Regions from separate parts of the Homo sapiens genome. Here all the other regions are linked to region 1. The links are contacts of gene promoters, found by promoter capture Hi-C in blood cells and fetal thymus (Javierre and others, 2016). All regions are on one chromosome and are shown on one strand. Each heading gives the region's core, a stretch centred on a gene start or on the middle of the fragment in contact. The rest is flanking DNA. Distances are from core to core; before and after follow the strand shown.

Region 1 (2,763 bases), core at 114-2,613:
CGCCCGGTTAATCTTGTATATTTTGTAGAGACTGGGTCTCGCCATGTTGCCCATGCTGGTCTCAAACTCCTGGGCTCAAGGGATTCTGCCTCGGCCTCCCAAAGCGCTGGGATTACAGGCGTGAGCAACGCGCCTGGCCACCTTCAATTTTTATCATGTTTTCTTTTCCTAGCATTAACCACTTTCTGACATTATCTTGTTTACAATGCCTCCTCCACTGAAATGTACATCCCAAAAAAGGCAAGCATCTTGTCAGTCTTGTTCACAACTGTCTCCAGCATTTAGAAAAGTGCTTGGTACATAGGTACTCAACAAAATAATTTTTTGAATGAAGAGTTTGGTTCGATTCTTATCCCTTTTTTGATCAGACCAGGAAATGCCGGAACCTTAGAAGGAAGAATGGCAACTTGCCCCAAACCAATAGCAAGTCTGTGGGAGACCTGTAACTAAAACTTTGGGTCCCCAAAGATATTAAATCAGGCCTCTCGAGTTCCAAACTCAAACCCTGGATTTTGTTTGTTTTGAGACGGAGTCTCGTTCGCCCAGGCTGGAGTGCAGTGGAGCAATGTCGGCTCTCTGCAACCTCCGCCTCCCGGGGTTCAAACGATTCTCCCGCCTCAGCCTCCCGAGTAGCTGGAATTAAAGGTATACGCCACCACGCCCAGGTAATTTTTGTGTTTTTTGTGGAGACAGGGTTTCATCATGTTGGCCAGGCCGGTCTCGAACTCCTGACCTTAGGTGATTCGCCCGCCTCCGCCTCCCAGAGTGTTGGGATTACAGGCGTGAGCCACCGCGCCCAGCCCTAGGTCATTTTTTAGAGAGACATAAACCAGTGTCAGGGACACAGCCTGGACATGGTGCAAAAGACAGTAACGGAGATGCACTACGCCCCTGCCCGCCATTCATCCCTTTGGTTGAATTCAACTCATCCTGGTTGAATTCAAGTCATCCCTCTGCTTGTGAATCCTAACAGCGCTTCCGACTTAGGGCTCCACAGTCCGGGTATGCGTTGCCTAGGTTACCTCGCACCTCCGCTAGCCGGCTGAGAGCCACGCCCATCACCTCCTCTCTAAGATTTGATTGGCTGGCTTTGGCAAGGCCGAGTACTCACCTGGCAGTTCCCTCATGAGGTAAAAAGGGCCACAGCCAGCTCCTGACTTGTCCGCGCCAGGAGGAGCCGTGGCCGCGGTGGGAGGCGGGGCCGTGCCGGGTCCCCCGCCCGCAGGAGGCGGTGGCGGGGGTGGAGGCTTTCCTGGTCCGAAGCCGAGTGCGGTTGGGGGCGGTGGTGGGTCAGCCTGAGCCCCAAACAGTGCCGTGAAATTCTCCATCGTACCCTCCGCCCCGGCGCTGTCTCCGTGTCTGCCGTTGGTAATTTTCATTGGACAATGCTTTCAAGGAGTACCCCCCCGCCCTTTCTCAAGGAGCCGCTTGTCATTGGATGCCTCAGGCACCGCCTACCTTTTTTCAACAACTACTTCCGTCGCCTTATGAGAACGTTCAGGAAGTGCTATTTAACCTTATTAGAGTCTTCTGCTAGCTCTGCTTGCTACAGTCCAATAAAATGACTTAGGCGGATAAAGCGACAACTAGACTAACCAATAAAATATTAAGTTCTTTTTTGGGTTCTGACCTACCACAGCGTTCAGAGAACTACATCCGGGTTTAGAGGCCGTACGTTTGCGATATAGCCCAATAGCAGTCGTTATGGTGGGGGAGGCGGGGCGAGACCTACGACGCCGGCGAGCAGTGGCCGTTACGGCCGAAAAGATGGCGGTCTTGGCACCTCTAATTGCTCTCGTGTATTCGGTGCCGCGACTTTCACGATGGCTCGCCCAACCTTACTACCTTCTGTCGGCCCTGCTCTCTGCTGCCTTCCTACTCGTGAGGAAACTGCCGCCGCTCTGCCACGGTCTGCCCACCCAACGCGAAGACGGTAACCCGTGTGACTTTGACTGGGTGAGCCTCCCGCGTGTTAGTACCCCGCGACCTTGACTGTCCCTGCCCTTGCAGGTGTATCTGGGAACCCTGGGGTTTACCTCTCTGAGGACACCTGAGGTTCCGAGCCTGTAGCGGACTTAGAGACTATTAAGTGCAGGGTCCGAACCATCATCGAGTCTAAACTTTGTGTTTAAGATGGGAAAACGGAACATGTTAGTCGTAGCCCATGCACAACGGCCCAACAGCTTTTGACTGTTGAGTCCAGGTTTCTTTCTGTTTCACCATTGAGACTAATTAACAGCCCTATCAAAACTGTACATACACGTGTATAACGTTTTACAGTGCCGCTCATTATGTAAAGCCTCCTGAGGAGCCAGTAAGGTAGACAAGGCAAGTAGTAATATTCCTGTTTCATTGGTGAAGAAATGGATCTCGGTATATTTAGGTGACTTGCCCCAGGTCATACAACTAATGAGTGCCTGGGACTTGAAACTACTCTTCTGGCCACACTACCTGCACAACACTGTCAGCCGCTTCTTAATTCAATAAACATTTCTAGAGTGTACACTCTAGGCACTCTGCTTGATCCTGAAGATGCGAAAGTGGATAAAATTTGGGGGCTACTGTAAAGGAATTGTAAAAAATACGTTGTAAAGAAATCTTTGGGATTTCTTTGGGAAGTGTCCCAAGCTCCTTGCTGTGCTTCCTTGGTATGGGTGGAGGGACTGCTCGGAACATAAACTTAAAGCACTTTCCCTTCTGCCATATAGCATGTAGGGGCCAAGGAAAAGCTTCCCCTTTGCTCTCTGAGGGTTTGTTGAAAAA
Region 2 (2,763 bases), core at 171-2,670, 910 kb after region 1:
TGGAAATCTTGATGTTTTGACAACTGCCTCCTAGGAAAACTGGCCATATGTTAATTAACCTAGTAGATGGAAAATTAAGGATTATGTGAGGTTAATTTTACCCTGATAATGACAAAACCTTGATAGCATTTAATATTAATACTTCTTCTCAAAATTGAATGTTTATATCAAGTACTGATTTTTATTTTAAAAAAGAAAAAACTATAATCCTTCTGCCTTCCAAAAGCCATGCTGTGATAGCTGCCCAGGCTGCTCTGTTACATCTCCCATTTATTGTTTACTTTTATAAATTTGCTTCTAAGATGGTATGTGTTTCAGCTTATTGGCAATATCTATGATATAAATAATGAAAGCTAATTATTTCATTTAGCCCTTACCCAATAAGCATCATTTTCTAAGTTAAATGCAATAGAATGACAACCCTCCAAGTACCTTTTAACTTTTATACTGTCATTTCAAAGCCCAGCTCATTCTCTTATTTTAAGAAGCATGTGGTATGACTGGGTAGGGGAGAAAAAAGGAAAGCATGTTGTCACTTGAGTGAGACTGCTTTAGAAATGTTACCAAGTTAGCGTTGGGTGTTTCCTGTTCTTTGGAAGAGAACAGGCCTAAACAGTACCTTCCTCCTCCTATGTAGCTACCAGGAAGGCACCGTGATTGAAATTAGAGATGCTTCCTTGCTTGATTTTTAAGTATAAATTAAATTACCTTTAAAAAGTACGTAAGGTTAGGAGTGAAAAAAATCCTGTTTTTAAAGGACTTCACACACCCTTTGTTTCTTGAACAAGATGTGAACTACCTAAACAGAAAATGAAATTGGAAAGTCAGTGGGAGAGACAACTATAGAATCAGACTTCTATTTAAATTCAAGCCTCGTTACTTGATTTTGTGCATGTTATTTCTTGAAGTTTCAGTTTCTTATATGGAGAAATAACATTTACCTCAGAAATATTCTGAAGATCAAATGGAATTGCTTTAAAGTATTTAGCTTACTGACTGACCCATGGTAGATACTTAATAAATGGCAGCTGTGTCAATAACAATTTTATTGAATGAACATTTCGCCAGCCTATGAGAAAAAAGACATGGGAAGCATAAGGGAGAATGATAATAAAATGAACTAATTCTAAGTGTGTGAGATAGATTACATTAGGCAGGGGTGCCATGAGGATTGGTATGATAGTGACCTTGTTGCTAAGTGCAAAAGCAAAACAATGACATAGAAACAAGTGTGCTAAGTACTGAGTGGAGGAGAGAGATGGAGGCAGACGCTGCAGGGGAAAAAAAATCTGATTAAAAAGGGCCCTTTGATTCCACAGGCACAAAAATCCACAGCCAGGAATTTGCTACCTCCTCTGAGTCAGGCAGGGCGTGGGGGTGGGGTGCACAATCCCATTAGTAGAGAATGCCCAGTGGGTTTAGTCTTTGAGAGTCACATCTCTTATTTGGACCAGTATAGACAGAAGTAAACCCAGCTGACTTGTTTCCTGGGACAGTTGAGTTAAGGGATGGCTTTCACAGAGCATTCACCGCTGACCCCTCACCGTCGGGACCTCTGTAGCCGCTCTATCTGGCTAGCAAGGAAGATTCGTTCAGACCTGACTGCTCTTACGGAATCCTATGTAAGTTGCCTATTTTGCTGTTATCTGTTTTCCCTTCATCTTTTTTGATCCAGCAACTTACCATCACGCATCAGCTCCATTACCAATTGTGAAAGCTCTAATCATATAGTCATTCATATAGGTTATTTGACATGGGCCCTTCCCTTGAGGAAACCCATGTGACTTTATTTTCTTCCTCTGGGCTGTTTAGGAGATGAAGTTACTTGAATGAGAAAATATATATGGAGTTCTAGAAAGGATTGGTTTATATGTCTTGGAGGCTATTCCAAATTTATTGGCATATATTCTGAATACTACTAGAACAGATTAGCCATGGGCCCTCTGGGTTCTTCATAGCCATTGTTCTGAATTTTTTAGCTATGTAAATGAAAGGTTTATGGGATAGGAAGAGTACTATGAACGTGGGAGGAATTTGTAAATCCTACCAATTTCTCCTATATAGCATTAGCCACCCACCTTTTAGTATTCTGCATCAAAAGTAGATTGTGTCTAAAGAGAAAGGTAAGCTATCAAAAGGATCTCCTAGAAGATTCATTGGAAACTTGTGGAAGTGTCAAATTCTTGAGCTAATTCTGGAGTTCCAGATTTGTCTTCTAACAGTAAGGGGATCCCCATCAATTTCCACCTGAGATATGCTGTGGAAATACTCCAACCCCTGTGGAGAGTTTTGAATTTAGGCTGAGAACTGATTTATCTTTGTACAGCCTCACCAGACAGAAATCAGACTCTTTGGGAGTGCTCAATGGGGAGAGGGAAGTTAGAGAAATTCTACAATGGCTATATTCCAAGTTTTCCTAGTTGTGGCCAGTGTCTTTTACAAGTATGTTTAAAAATACTTTAATATGATTAAAATATTCCAGTTAATGAGAGAGTTTGAAGTGAGAAGGAAAAATTCTTCTAAATCAGTTTTCAACCTTTAGAACTCAATAAAATCTGAACATTCTTCTAAGAAAAATCCATAGGTAGTCAATTTCAGGCAGTATTGGGTCTTTCTAAAGTCCAGTCATAGAGCCCAAATTAAGAGTTCCTACTGTAGACATATTATTTACTTTACAACTTGGATCCTTGGCCAGAGAGATGAGTGAGATTTTGTATGAAATTTAGGGGTGATTTAAGGACACTGGGGTGATGACAGAAGATG
Region 3 (2,763 bases), core at 89-2,588, 890 kb after region 1:
AAGTTATAATGGAGTTATTCTGTATTACAATGGGCCCTAATCCACTATGACTGATGTCCTTATAAGAATAAGGACATCACACATGGGACAGGAGGAAACACCGTGTGATGATGGAGATAGAATTGAAGTTAGCAGCTATAAGCCAAGTTGTTGACCACCACCAAAAGCTAGGAAGAGGCAAGGAATGATTCTTCTCAGAGTCTGAGAGGGAGTGTGGTCTGTTATTGTGTTGATTTTGGACTTTTATCCTCCAGAAGTATGGGAGAATAGATTTCTGTTGTTTTAAGACATCCCAGTTTGTTGTGATTGGTAGAGCAGCCCTGGTAGACTAATACATTATTTCAGCTCTCTCTTGCTTACTATTCGCATGTAATATCTTAATCCATTCTTTTACTTTGAACCTGTTTGTGTCTTTGGATCTAAAGCAAACTTGTCCACTATGGCCTGCAGTCTGAATGCGGCTCAGAACGGCTTTGAATGTGTCCCAACACAAAATCGTAAACTTTCTTAACACATTATGAGTTCTTTTTTAAATTTTTTTATCTTATCAGCTATCATTAGTGTATTTTATGTGTGGCCCAAGACATGTCATCTCCTTCCAGTGTGGCCCAGGGAAGCCAAAAGATTGGACAACCAGGTCTAACGTGAGTTTCTTGTAGACAGATTGTAGATTGGTTGTATTTTTTGTTAATCCATTCTGCTAATATGTACCTTTTAATTCCACACTATATGTATGTGTAAACTACCGATAAGAATGGCCTGCCATTTTGCTTTGTGTTTTCTACCTGTCTTAATATCTTTTATTTTGATCTTTATTTTCTTTGTATTTCCTTGTGTTGCAGATATATAGCAGTGTACCATCTTCTCTTTTCATTTTCTGTATATTTTTATTTTCTTAGGGGTTACCTGGGGATTGCATTTAGTACTTTAAACTTTATCTAGTTTAATGCCAGTTTAGCTTCAGTAGTAAACATATCTCTGCTCTGTACTATTCTGTGCCTCACCATTTATGTTATTGTTGCAAAGTGTATGTTTTGATGTCAAATGCCCATTAACATAAATTTACAGTTGCTATTTTGTACATTTGTCTTTCAAATCATGTAGGGAGAAAAAGGAGTTAGAAATCAAAAGTACAATATCATATTTTTGCCTCTGTAAAATATGCCAGTGTTTTAATTTATGGCTTTAAGTGCTCTCTAGTGTCCTTTAATTTCATCTTAGAGGATTCCTGATAGCATTTTTTATAGGGCAGATCTACTAGTGATAATCTGTTTTTGATTTTCTGGTAATGTCTTAATTTCATCTTCGTTTTTAAAGAATAGTTTCGGCAGCTATAGAATTCTTGCTTGACGATTTTTTTTTTTCCTTTCATCACTTTGTTATCACACTGCCTTCTGACTTCCATGGTTTCTGATGAGCGGCTGTTAATCTTGTTGAGTATTCCTTGTTGCTTATGAGTCACTTCTTGCTGTTTTTATGGTTCTTTGTATTTGTCTTTCTACCGATTGATAATAATGTGTCTAGGTGGGGATCTCTTTCATTTATCCTACTAGGAGTTAGGTAAAGTTCTTGTTTGTACAGACTATATTCCCCAATAGTTTTTCAAATATTCTTTCTGTTCATTTTCTCCTCTCCTTCTGCAAATCTTATTATGCATCTGTTGGCATGCTTAATGGTTGTCTAAACGATCTCTTAGGCTTTATTTTCCTTTATTCTTTTTTTCTTTATATTCTTCATACTGGATCATCTCTGTTGGCCTAGCTTAAAGTTCACTGATTCTTGTTTTTCAAGTCTGCGGTGAATTTTTAATTTCAGTTATTATACTTCTCAGCTCTAGAATTTTTTTCTCTTAGTTCCTTTTTTGTGGGGGGGGTGTGGTTTCACTCTTGTCGCCTATGCTGGAGTGCAATGGTGTTATCTCGGCTCACTGCACCCTCCACCTCCTGGGTTCAAGTGATTCTCCTACCTCAGCCTCCCAAGTAGCTGAGAATACAGGGATGCGCTGCTACAAGCAGCCCAGCTAATTTTTGTATTTTTAGTAGAGACGGGGTTTTGCCATGTTGGCCAGGCTGGTCTCGAACTCCTGACCTCAGGTGATCCGCCCACCTTGGCCCTCCAGAGTGCTGGGATTACAGGTGTGAGCCACTGTACCCGGCCTCTCTTGGTTCCTTTTTATAGTTATCTTTTTATTGGTATTCTGTATTTGTCGAGACATATTTCTTCTGATTTCCTTTAGTACTTTGTCAGTGATTTTCTTTAGCTCTGATTGTCTTTAGTTCTTTAAACATTGTTTTTTACAACTTTTATTTTAGATTCGGGGGTACATGTGCAGGTTTGTTACTGGGGCATATTGTATGATATGAAATTTAGGATACAAATGATCCCATCATGCAGGTACTGAGCATAGTACCCAATAGTTTTTCAACCTCCCCCCAATAATCTCCAGTTTCTGTTGTTGCCATCTTTATGTCCATGAGTACCTAATGTTTAGCTCCTACTTTGGTCTCTGTGGTCTCTAAAGGTTCTGGTCCTTTCGCTTATATTCATCAAGTGATTTGACAGATTTCCTTAAACATCTTTACTCACCTTTTTCTTGATTCAGTGCTCACTTGGCTTTTATAACCTTTAACTATTGTTAAGAGTTTCCACAAAGTTGATTCTGACAGTGTTTGTTCATGATATGTGTTTATTTCTGTGGAGGGACATTTTTGCTGTCATCTCTGACAGAGTGGTTTTTTTTTAAGACTAGATTTTTAGGGGACG
Region 4 (2,763 bases), core at 193-2,692, 840 kb after region 1:
GTTTTGTTTCTTAAATTGATTTTATATTTAGAACTGTTTTTTAACAGTAATCAGAAAAGACAGAGGACTGCACAAGCTTTTATTTATGAGAGGAGAAATCCTTCCCCACTGAGTTCATTCTAAAAGGACAGGAGAAAAACAAAGTAAAGCAGCTTTCTGATTCCATATTTGTTCAAAACAAACATAAAAAGGAGAAATTAAAAAAAACAAGACAATTCAGAAAACACATGAAACAAACATACAAAGGGGGAAGAATGGGTCATGTAGAAAGGATCAAGGATAAAAAAAATTTAATAAAAACTTGCCAATCATGGAAGCTAGAAGACAGTGAAGCAATGTCTTCAGAATTATGAAGGAAAATAGTTTCCACTTAGAATTCTATGCCCAGGCAACTTAAGGGCAATGACAGAATAAAAATATTTTCAGATATTCAAGTTCTCAAAAATTCTTTCTCAGAAAGCTACTAGGGGATGTTCCCCACCAAAATAAAGGTGGTAACATGTATAAAACATAGACATGGGACCCAGGAAACAGAGCATCCAAAGAGGAAACTAATAAAAGGAATTTCCAAGAGTAATTACTAGATATAATTCTAAGTTAATGAACCAGAATGACTGCTACTCAGCAGGAAGAAATCATTTCATGTTGAATCAGGAGGAGGAAAGTCTCCTGGAGGGATATCTCCAGAAAAAAAAAAAAGAAAAGAAAGAAACTGACTTGTTGCCAGATGTAGTTGGCCATTTTGAAAAGAATTTCACAGTTCTGTTGCATAACTTAGTGATAAGTACAATAAAAACTAAGCCAATTTCAAAAAGGATTCAAATGTTAACTTTAGAAAAAAATGAATTTATACCAAAAGGACACTGTGATAATAATATTAACACTACTATACCTCCATGTGCTTGGCACTATTCTAAATACCACGCTTGTATTGTCTCTAAATCCTCATAACAACCCTATAAGGTAGGCAATTTCATTAGGACTATTTTACTGATGAGGAAAGTAAGGTACAGAGATGTTAAATGACTTGAACAAATACCACAACCCAGATTTGAACCTGGAAGTCTGACTCTAAAATCCAGACTCTAGTGTAGTCAGTTTGCTACATGGCTTACTTGTGAGCAGTATTCTATGATTGTCAACATATGCACACTTAATACTGATCTAACCTGTAATTATGACATAATTATATATTGAAAAAACAGGGGAGGGGAAATATGTTAGGAGTGAGTGGGGTAATAATAACATTTCTAAACCTCATCTTCCCTCTTAGACAGTCAATACATAATGGTTAAAACTGGAAAAATAAAACAATCTATAACAATATAAAGTTATTATTTAAAACACATAAGCAGGCCAGGCGCAGTAGTTCATGCCTGTAATGCCAGCACTTTGGGAGGCCAAGGCGGGCGGATCACGAGGTCAGGAGTTCAAGACCAGCCTGGCCAATATGGTGAAACATTGTCCCTACTAAAAATACAAAAATTAACCGGGTGTGGTGGCAAGTGCCTGTAGTCCCAGCTACTTGGGAGGCTGAGGCAGGAGAATCGCTTGAACCCAGGAGGTGGAGGTTGCAGTGGGCGGAGATCGCACCAGAGATCGCACCACTGCACTCCAGCCTGGGCAACACAGTGAGACTCCGTCTCAAAAAAACAAACAACAACAACAACAAAAAATAAGTAAATATCAGAAGAAACAGCTAAAATAATTTGGAGAGGAGAACTGGATTTGGAGATGAGAAAGGGACTTTTTCAATATTCAACAAGAAAAGGCTTTTTCAATATTACCCTTGAAGTAATATTTGAGTTTTTAAACTATGCATTTGTATTTCTGTGATTTAAAAAATCAATTTAAAGGGAAATTATAAATGTTGGAGAAAGGTAGGGAGGGATGGTATCTAGTACTGAAATGGGCACTTTGATAGTACTGATAGGAACCAGGACTCCCGTGACTACCAGGAAAGGTGTTGCTGGTCTTATAACTACCCACTGGGGTGTGGGATACAGCCTCTCAAGTCGGGTCATACCTTCTGCACCAAACACCTCTCCGCAGTGAGAGCAGAAGAAGTGCTCTGGGTGCCAGGTCTGGTTCATTGCTGTCAGCACTTTCTGGAAAGGGAACACACAGATATTATAATGATGCAGAAGTTGTAAAGCATGACTCTGGTTCTAAGTGAGTGACTGAAAGCTGGAGAGGAGCGGGGATTTACTTACATCCAGGATGGGAGCAGCGCAGTAAGCACAGCGTGGAGAAAAAAGTTGGTGGTAGTCGTTGGGGCAGTAGGCCAAGCCACTCCGCTCAAAGAAGGGACTGGAGCCAATCTCTTCTTTGCAATGAGTACAGACAAAATGCTCAGGATGCCATGATTGCCCTAGAGCATGGATCACCTGTGGAGTGAAATAAAGCCTGACACAGGAGGCCAGTTGAGTGCTCTACAGCCTACAGGTTGCACAACTCTAGGGAGCACTCTTCACATTGTACCCCTTGTAGACAACACGCCCTGGAATTATACAACACTGAGGCCTAGACCTAGGTTCCACCTAAGGCCATCTGTGGTCTGTGCTTTATGGATTGATAATAAAAGGATGCCCACTTCCGGGACTGATCACTGTGATGAAAGCCTGTAAATGTTCACAACCACTGCACTGCCACAGGGGGTGGCAGAAACAACATATAGCACATTGATGACAGAGAAGTTGTAACTGTAGCCTTAGTGTGGAAGGGACCCCTGGAAGAGGAAAAGGCCAAATGACAGTTTTTATT
Region 5 (2,763 bases), core at 93-2,592, 810 kb after region 1:
TTAAGATGCTGCTATGGTAGAACTGAGTGGCTCAAAAAAAGAAAACACAGCCTCTCCATTACTTGGTTCTACGTTCCACTGTGCTGGCCTCTTTCTCAGACAGCCTCCCCCAAGTGATGATAAAAATATTTATCAGCAGCAATGGGTTTTTATTATCCGCACAACTAGAATTCCAACGAATGGGAATGTTCTTTCTGAATAAATCTAGTAAAGGTCATTGGCTTTGCTGAGGTCACATGTCTATCCCTGATCCAATCACCTTCCTTCAGAAGAACAAAGTACTTTTATTGGTCAGACCTGGGACTGTACCTATTTCTGAGGCTGAGGTTAAAGTCAGCCTTGCCTAAACACATGGACCAAGAATGGGAGATGCAGTTCTTTGTGGAGAAACTAGACTGTGGGGAAAAACAGCTCAGAAATTCACTCCCCTTTCATTTCACGTCCCATCCTCAATTATATCCAATAATATTATTCAACATAGCATATCAAAGTCCAAAAACATTAAAATCCAAAATCAAATTCTCTAAGTTAAAGTTTAGAGAAAGTAAAGCCTTCTTTGATTCCTTGGTCTGTTCATTTTCAGCTTTAGGAGTTTTTCCAGTAACACCTGTGATCTGAGATATCTCTCGCTAGAATGGAGGTACTTATCCCAGGAAAAATGTTATTCCCATAATACAGTATTTATTGTGATTTAATGATATCCAAAATAGGAAGGGAAGATGGATGGCTCTCAACAGGGTGCCAGGAAGTTTATGCAATTGTCCGTAATCCATGGTCTATGAACCTAAACACAGTTAGGAGACTTCTCCCCACGGAAAATCAATTTAGGCACTATACGCTGACTATATCTAAGGTAGGGGAATGTCCTACATAAACTGTCTCCTTTCTTATAAATTTGAGACAACACTGCCTTCTGGCAAAGTTATAAATTTGCAACAAGTACAACCCAAGCACCAGCTTTTACCTGAGATTTCTTTCTTTTTTATCCTGTGGATCCCAAGAGATTTCCATTTCCCCACTGAGCTCTGTGTTCCCAGCACTTAATGTGCTGCACTGATGGTACCTAGTAACACAACCTCCACAATATTTTGGGGACAGGCAATCTCTTTTTCAGTGTCATATTTCAGTGGCTGCCACCACTGCCTTATTGAGGACGTGCTTATGCCTAAGACACTCGCCTCTAAAGGAAGCTGCTACTCTTTCTCACCTTGATTTCAGCTGCAAGATCTCCTTTTCCAGACTGCCAAACTGAAGGTGCTTTTGATGCTTCTCAGTGGTGCGCCCCTAGGGGCCCAGGAAGAGCAGTGCCACTGCCGCATGTTCCTCAGGACACCAGCATTCCTGGCTCTCTCCTCTGCCTTTGGGTTCTGTAAAGTTCTTGGACATGATCCCTCAGGATACTGACAATGCCTGCTTGCTTACCTTCTACATTACCTTGAAACTCAGAAACTCCAATATTTTCACTTTTGAACACACGAATTCAAGATTCATTGTCCTCTTCCCGCTTCTTACCAATATCCAGCTTTTAAAGTATTCACATCTCCTCCACAAAGCCCTTGTGCTTTCGGGAAACTTAGTCCTGCTTGTAACTTTGGAAATAATTCAGTTTGGTTTAAGCCAAGCTGCAGAATCCATTCCCCCAGCAAAAATTACTGGTATGTGACCTAGGCTAGACCAGTGAGGATGAATCCCAGAACTTTTGCTTGCAAATGCTCGATAAAAGCACTCTTGCTCCCCCTACTGGTTATGAAACAAGAAGCATGCGCTGGCAGCCATCCTACAACTCCAAGAAGAGTGTGTGATAGAACTTGGATGGAAAAATAATTGTTGTCTTTATCAAAGTATTACCTTGGAAGAGACTAAATTTACTTCAAAGAAAAACTGACCAAACTAATTGAGGGACTCCCCTTTGAGAATACAGTGCCAACTCTAGAGCATATTCCTTTCTATATGTTTATATTCACTGGTGGAAAATCCCTGTCCTGTGAGGGTGGGTTTTATTTTTTAAACATCCTAGAAGTTACTCAAAACCAAAAGTAAATAAGTACGTGATCAATTTTAGTAATGGCATTTCCAGGGTTTTTAAAAAGCAGAACTTTTTACTTGTGAGTAGTTTCCTTATTGCTAAAACACTGGTCCTGAAGTCAGTATCTCTTTTTGAGCAAATAAAACCACTTCCGTTCAATGTGGGAAGAAAGTGTTTTCACTTCTTAATTACATCTTAGTGAACTCTGGATTTTCTTTGACATTTAAAAATAGTTAAATTCTATTGAATCTCAAAATAGCTAATCCTTTTTAAAAAAGTTTTAGCACCTGTACATTTCTTTTTAAGGGCTAAAACTCCAAGTTTATTTTGTCAAATTGCCAAGGCAACCAAGAACATTGCCATATTAACACCTGCGTGTGACATCGTTGAGTGAAGACATTGCAAAGAGGATGTTTAAAAGTTGAATGTGTGTTCTGCATAGTCTGGCGCTCTCAGACAGCCAAACAGGATAGAGGCCAGATGGTTCCGTATCTGTGTGGCCTCCCACATATCTTACATGCATTTGGAGTTCCTATTTTATAGAATTAACTGTTGCCAATTCCTTGTAACTCTCACAACCCCCTTATTATCCATTCCAACAAAGGACATAGATATAATAAAGTTTGGCAAGAAACATTTAATCCATTTCAGCTCTCCCAAGTAGTACTATTCCTCTATCAATCTAAAGACATCAAATTTTGTCCTATTTTTAAAAATACCTCCAGTGAAGGAGTTTT

The links. Contacts are between HindIII fragments. The CHiCAGO score rates a contact against its expected background, and 5 or more counts as called.
Region 2: a contact is called between the fragment with the promoter of CNTF here and the fragment with the promoter of MED19 in region 1, in 5 of 17 cell types (total CD8 T cells, naive CD8 T cells, total CD4 T cells and 2 more). The highest score is 13.3, in total CD8 T cells.
Region 3: a contact is called between a fragment that was not itself captured here and the fragment with the promoter of MED19 in region 1, in 2 of 17 cell types (naive CD8 T cells and naive CD4 T cells). The highest score is 8.1, in naive CD8 T cells.
Region 4: a contact is called between a fragment that was not itself captured here and the fragment with the promoter of MED19 in region 1, in 3 of 17 cell types (total CD8 T cells, naive CD8 T cells and total CD4 T cells). The highest score is 7.1, in total CD8 T cells.
Region 5: a contact is called between a fragment that was not itself captured here and the fragment with the promoter of MED19 in region 1, in 7 of 17 cell types (naive CD8 T cells, naive CD4 T cells, total CD8 T cells and 4 more). The highest score is 19.4, in naive CD8 T cells.

What each region holds. Positions count from the first base shown.
Region 1 is chr11:57,710,852-57,713,614 of GRCh38, forward strand. It overlaps MED19 (mediator complex subunit 19), which reads right to left and starts at 1,364. Exons shown (of 5, transcript NM_001317078.4): 1 at 1,112-1,364. The coding sequence starts at 1,328. It overlaps TMX2 (thioredoxin related transmembrane protein 2), which reads left to right and starts at 1,742. Exons shown (of 8, transcript NM_015959.4): 1 at 1,742-1,956. The coding sequence starts at 1,768. TMX2-CTNND1 (TMX2-CTNND1 readthrough (NMD candidate)) reads left to right here and starts at 1,672. Exons shown (of 21, transcript NR_037646.1): 1 at 1,672-1,956. RefSeq lists a silencer at 995-1,334. The HindIII fragment of the contact is 3,048 bases long and covers 1-2,727 here.
Region 2 is chr11:58,621,245-58,624,007 of GRCh38, forward strand. It overlaps CNTF (ciliary neurotrophic factor), which reads left to right and starts at 1,421. Exons shown (of 2, transcript NM_000614.4): 1 at 1,421-1,622. The coding sequence starts at 1,509. It overlaps ZFP91 (ZFP91 zinc finger protein, atypical E3 ubiquitin ligase), which reads left to right. Exons shown (of 11, transcript NM_053023.5): 11 at 1-306. It overlaps ZFP91-CNTF (ZFP91-CNTF readthrough (NMD candidate)), which reads left to right. Exons shown (of 13, transcript NR_024091.1): 12 at 1,522-1,622. The HindIII fragment of the contact is 9,454 bases long and covers 1-2,763 here.
Region 3 is chr11:58,604,210-58,606,972 of GRCh38, forward strand. All of the region lies in intron 2 of ZFP91 (ZFP91 zinc finger protein, atypical E3 ubiquitin ligase), which reads left to right. All of the region lies in intron 2 of ZFP91-CNTF (ZFP91-CNTF readthrough (NMD candidate)), which reads left to right. Among named protein-coding and RNA genes, the nearest start is that of CNTF, 17 kb to the right of the region's middle. The HindIII fragment of the contact is 3,636 bases long and covers 1-2,763 here.
Region 4 is chr11:58,547,760-58,550,522 of GRCh38, forward strand. It overlaps LPXN (leupaxin), which reads right to left. Exons shown (of 9, transcript NM_004811.3): 6 at 2,214-2,387; 7 at 2,027-2,108. Among named protein-coding and RNA genes, the nearest start is that of LPXN, 27 kb to the right of the region's middle. The HindIII fragment of the contact is 2,737 bases long and covers 75-2,763 here.
Region 5 is chr11:58,523,029-58,525,791 of GRCh38, forward strand. No RefSeq gene overlaps it. Among named protein-coding and RNA genes, the nearest start is that of OR5B21, 16 kb to the left of the region's middle. RefSeq lists a silencer at 1,568-1,862. The HindIII fragment of the contact is 3,138 bases long and covers 1-2,763 here.